Regions from separate parts of the Homo sapiens genome. Here region 1 is linked to region 2. The links are contacts of gene promoters, found by promoter capture Hi-C in human tissues and cell types (Jung and others, 2019). All regions are on one chromosome and are shown on one strand. The core of a region is centred on a gene start or on the middle of the fragment in contact, and the rest is flanking DNA. Distances in the headings are between cores, read along the strand shown.

Region 1 (2,700 bases), core at 151-2,650, 240 kb after region 2:
ACTAAAAATCTGTTCCAAAATGGTAAGTCCTGACTTCAGGAATCACTGCCATATACCTTTGAGGTCAAAAGGGGTCAAATTATTGTATTGTATTGTTTTAAAATCATGTTAGTGTGGCAGCTACACAGCCTTCAAACGAAAGTGTGCCCAGGAAACCATACTTGACCCTTTGAGGGCTTTCTCTTGCCATGAGCTGTTAAAAGCAGCTGCTTCTCTGCTATATTAGGGCTTCCACCCCCATGCTACCAGAGGTCTGCCCTCGCTGTAAATTGAGGCTTTATTGAATCACTGTTTATAATAGCAGAAGACTGGAAATGATCTCTATGCCCATCAGAAGGGGACTCATTAAGTGTCATCGAATTCTAAAATCCTTTAAAAATATTTCTGTAAAGTTACGTGTGCTAATATGCCATTGTCAAGTTATAGTGTGTAGAGACTGCATATAGAGCAGGCTGTCTGTGTATAATAAAATGTTTATTGTATGCATGGAATATTTTAAGAATTCTTAAGAAACTAGGAAAATTGGAGAACCAACGTCTGGTATAGAGAATAATTTGTGTTTTCCTTGTAGACCCTCTCTCACCATTGGAAATTTTAGCTATGTATATGTATTTTAGCTATGTAATTACTTTTTTAAAAAATTAACTAATTGAATTAACTAATGCCTTGGAAATTGGCATGGACTGAATGGTTGTCAGCAACACTACAGTGCCGAGCCAGTAGTTTTCAGTTCTTGCCTGTGTTTGTCAAGCAAGGGAGATGTCAGATAGCAGAGGGATTTTCATTTGAAACACTTTTCAGCTTGCATTTGACCACTTTGAAGAGGGAAACCAGACTTTGGAACCATTTTCAAGAATCAAATGTGTTCCGTGTTTCAAAGGATTTTAACTCTCAAATAGACCTTTCTCTGGAGCGACATTCCCCACTTTGAGAAACTAAAACAAGTAGCTTGTACCAAAAAAACAAGTATAAATTATGATTCCTTCTGATCAAACATGTAATGTCAAGTCTGAAAGAAAGAAAAAGAAACTTCCAAAACAGAGTCTGGTAGTGTTTCCATAAAACATGCCATGTGTTATACATTGCAAGGCACTAGCAAAGGAAGTCTATTAATAGAATTGAGAAAACATTAATAGGGGCCCACAAGGACCTGGTCATTTTTAAAGATATGAGAATGAACTCTTGGCTTTATAATTTTAGGGTTGTTAAAACACCTGCCAGCGGCACCTCTTATTGTGTGGATTTTTTTTTCCCATTACACTGTGTGTAAAAACCATTAAAGAAAACTCAAAGCCCTAATTGTGACACTCGATAAAGTGGTCAAGAAAAACTATGTTTACAAATCTGAAAATGTCACTGTGTGCTTTTATTAAGCCTCAGCCTCAAACTTCCAACCTGTGGGAAAGCTTAACAGCAGAGGTAATCTCTATAGAAAGGACCTACTAGTAAGCACAAATCATGTCAAGCAAAGGGGAAATTACGACAGGTGGATTTCAAAATAGCACAGATTTAATTTATCTGGGCCCAAACCTCTTCCATCAGGGTGACAAAGAAATGTAGTCACTGAAGGAGATGCTTCCAGAATCACTCTGTGTTTAAGTACCACAGCCCCAGGTCACCCTAGAGGTCCTGAGCTCCTTGGGTGGCCCTTTATTCTAATACCTCAGCCCATCCTATCCCCTTCCCAACTATGCGAACATCTTGACGGTGGGACTTGGAAACCTTCCTGCAATTTTTTGCCCTACTAGCTGATCAAATTCCTCATTCATTCCTTTGGGTTAAAGAATTAATACAGAATATTCCTAAGTGTTATGACACTATAAGCATAGTGTCATGACATAAGGCTCCTGGTGGAGCCGAGTGGACTTGGGGGTGAATCTTTTTTTTTTTTTTTTTTTTTTTTTTTTTTGAGACGGAGTCTCGCTCTGTCGCCCAGGTGGGACTGCGGACTGCAGTGGCGCAATCTCGGCTCACTGCAAGCTCCGCTTCCCGGGTTCACGCCATTCTCCTGCCTCAGCCTCCCGAGTAGCTGGGACTACAGGCGCCCGCCACCGCGCCCGGCTAATTTTTTTTGTATTTTTAGTAGAGACGGGGTTTCACCTTGTTAGCCAGGATGGTCTCGATCTCCTGACCTCATGATCCACCCGCCTCGGCCTCCCAAAGTGCTGGGATTACAGGCGTGAGCCACCGCGCCCGGCCGGGGGTGAATCTTATCACTACAAGCTAGTAGCTATAAGGCCTACCTCAGAGACTGAAGTGAAGACTGAAAATTATAAAGTGAGTCACCTGACACCAGAGACTCCTCACTCTAGAATAGGCACCCCCTTCTGGGACATCCAAATCCAGTTGGGAAGGCAGGCATGTGGACTAGTAATTACAGGAGCAATTAGTAGTAATTACAGGAATGATCAGAAAGATCATTCTAAGAGAAATGTGACCTAAGTCCTCAGAAGCCCAACGGGGAAAGCAGGTGGTTCAGGGGAGCCCCCTGACTTGGGGAGGTCAGGGTAGGGCCTCAGAAAGAGGAAACATTCTGAGCAGCCTTGAAACTCACCTGTCAGGTGGGGAGTCAGGGAACACCATTGTAAGTAAAGATAAAACAGCAGGTGGGAAGCTATGGCGCACTTGTAGGCCCTGGCACACAATGTGACAATGACTCATCTCTCATCTTGCACAAGTTTGGCTTTTGAGGGACTTGGA
Region 2 (2,700 bases), core at 70-2,569:
AGATCAGAGCTTCTCGAAACCATCAGGCTGTTTATCAGCCCCGCCCACAACGTGGCACGGCCTTTCTGCGACATCAGATGCTGAGCTGGACCTCCTCCTCCCCACCCCCTAGTCCTCCCCGTCCTCAGGTGGCGTCTGCGGTCGAGGATGTAAGCATTCTACTCGTTGATTAGTATCGTTTCCATTGACAAACCCCAGACTGATGAAGACCACTTTCAGCTGCAGCCCGCCCCCTCCAGCTTCAGCTTCGAAGACACTATTGCCAGTGGGTTTTCTAGAAGTGGTGATCATGGGCACCAAATTATCCCCTCCCTCTCCCTGCATTCTCCCATTATCGTCTACCCTTGGTTAAATACGCTGAAAAAAGAACTGAAGCGGAGTTAAGTACGAGGAAGCCTTAAAGACGCACTTTCTGGCAGCCCCCCGCCCCCTTTCCCCGCAGTGGAGGCTGCCCCAGGTCTACAGGTGCCGCCTTCGCCCGGCCTCGCGTAGCCCACAGCAGGGGCCGCCCGCCCGCCGAAGTTGAAGGCGCACCTCCCCTTCCCGGGAAGGACGACGGTTCCCCAAAAGAGGCGGAGGGTAGTCTCTCATCTGAACCAGGCGCTTTAATGCCTGCCTGAAGCCACCGCGGCCAGCGTGGAGACCACGCAGCGGGCGGGCGGCTGCAAGCCCTGGGCTCCGAGCGCCTCTCCTGTGCGGGTCCCGCCCCCCTCCCCGCATTCCTCTCGTTCTGCTCCCGAGCCCAGGCCACGCTGAAGGAAGTACTTGGGCAGTCTCTTTCCTGGAGAACGGGCCCGCCGGTTCCGGAAGCCTCTCCTACCCCCAGGCTGGTCACCTCGGACTACCGACCCGGGACAAGAAGTCCAAGCAGACTGCGGCGGAGGTAGGCTGGCCTCAGCCCAGCTCCCCCAGGGTCTCCCCCGGAGCGCCGGCCTCCCAGCACGCGAGCAGCCCCCTCCCACCCAGTCCCGCGGCCGCCTCCAGTCCCCCTGCGCCCGGGAAGCCTCCACCTCGCCCGCCCTGACACCGAGGTCCCAGTATCCAAAGCGCCCCCAGGGCCCCGCCCGCAACAGGGGAAGTTGCAGCCCGCCGCTCTCGGTCACCTTGGCCGTCACCGAGGGGCCTCGCTTGCGGAAGCCCTCGGCCCCCGAAGAAAACACAAGTGCGCCGAGCCCCACGCAAAGCACGAGAGGTAGCAGCAGCCGAGGACCCGGGCCCATGGTGAGCGGTGGCAGCGGCGCTACCGGCACGGGCGCTACCGGCACGGGCGCGACACAGGCTCTGGGACAGCTGACGGGACTGCCGGCCGGCTGCGCCTGCGCGCTCCCGGTTGCGGGGGATGGGGATCGGGCAGTCCGGGAAGGGCGGGGACCCGGGGCGCGTTCCTCCCAAGTTCAGACTCGCGACCCGAACTTGGGATTCGGAGGAGCGCGCCCACAGGGCGCAGCCAGGGCTCGACCGCCGCGCCTTAGGCGGGTGCGGAGGGCGCCAGGGACGGGAGGGAGCCCGGGTTGCCCAGGCGCGGAGCCGGGCGCAGCGGGCTAGGCTGGGAGCACCTCCAGGAATTTACCGCGTAGGCGCGGATTAAACTTGGACGGGAAGACCAGGACTCTCGGGCTTCCGCGTCCGCCCGGCAGCTAGCGCTCCGCGGGACTGGGAACTCTGCAGCCGGTCCCGGTGTGATTGCTGCCGCCTTGGGAGCAGCCTCCGCCGCGGCCGCCGAGTTCCAATGGCCCATTGGAACCTTTTGCTAGGTTTTGGACGCTTAGCAGAACTTTGACATCGCTGGAGGCGTGGAGCCCTGTTGCACTCGAATAATGGCCTCTCTTTGAGATGATTCACGTCTAGGGAACACTGGAAAATGCTGGATTCACAGTGCCCCTTTGCCTTCGAAAAACTTTTACATTGGCTTTAAGTACTTTATTTGGAGGATGATTCTGTGATCTTATCTACACTGTTCACAAGGCAGCACTTACACAGGCCCAGAACCATGGTCATGTAGGATTCTTTCCTGGGGAAACAAAGTAAATAAACTGACTTTTAGGTGTATCTGTAGGATGGATTTTTTACAAACTTAAGAATTATGTTTAGGAAGATTAATGACTGGGGAAGTAAGTTCTTATTATATTTTTAAATGGAAAATTCGGGTTGCAAAACCACAAATTCTGATCTCAACCGTGAAAATAAATATATCAAGGCACTTAAATATTGAAAGAGATGTACCACAACGTTTACAGTAGCTATAGATAGAATTGATAGCTATTGATAGACTTATGGATTTTTGAGGGTTTAAAAAAATTTTTTTTACAGTTTTCTGATTTCCCAGATGTTCTACAATGAGCATATAAGTATTTTATAACATGGAAAGGGTTATTTTAAAACTCATTGCTTTTTGAATTAGAATTTCAAAAGAACTTTTTTGTTTTAGAGTAACAGCCCTAAAATTAACTAAAAATTAGTGGTATTCGCACATAGGTGCCATTTTAAGGGGCTGGTGCCATTACTTTCAAGCCAAGATTTTCCTCGGATTAAGAGATGGAATTTCTAAATGTCAGATGGGATTCCTAGGTGTACCTAAGTGTAGATCTAAAATGACATTGGAACCATTAGAGATAAAAGGAGTAACCACTACTTCTTTGGGGTGAGAAAAAGGAGAAATGCAATTCTGAGCTATTTTTATGATTCAGTCCAGTGAAAGAC

What was found. Contacts are between HindIII fragments. The study calls those that stand out against the background at their distance.
Region 1: a fragment that was not itself captured here is called in contact with the fragment with the promoter of PPIC in region 2 in 1 of the 25 tissues and cell types used here (aorta).

The regions. Positions count from the first base shown.
Region 1 is chr5:123,275,781-123,278,480 of GRCh38, forward strand. No RefSeq gene overlaps it. Among named protein-coding and RNA genes, the nearest start is that of CEP120, 150 kb to the right of the region's middle. The HindIII fragment of the contact is 6,559 bases long and covers 1-2,700 here.
Region 2 is chr5:123,035,406-123,038,105 of GRCh38, forward strand. It overlaps PPIC (peptidylprolyl isomerase C), which reads right to left and starts at 1,320. Exons shown (of 5, transcript NM_000943.5): 1 at 1,104-1,320. The coding sequence starts at 1,220. PPIC-AS1 (PPIC antisense RNA 1) reads left to right here and starts at 517. Exons shown (of 2, transcript XR_001742868.2): 1 at 517-883. RefSeq lists silencers at 16-188, 1,497-1,546. The HindIII fragment of the contact is 11,652 bases long and covers 1-2,700 here.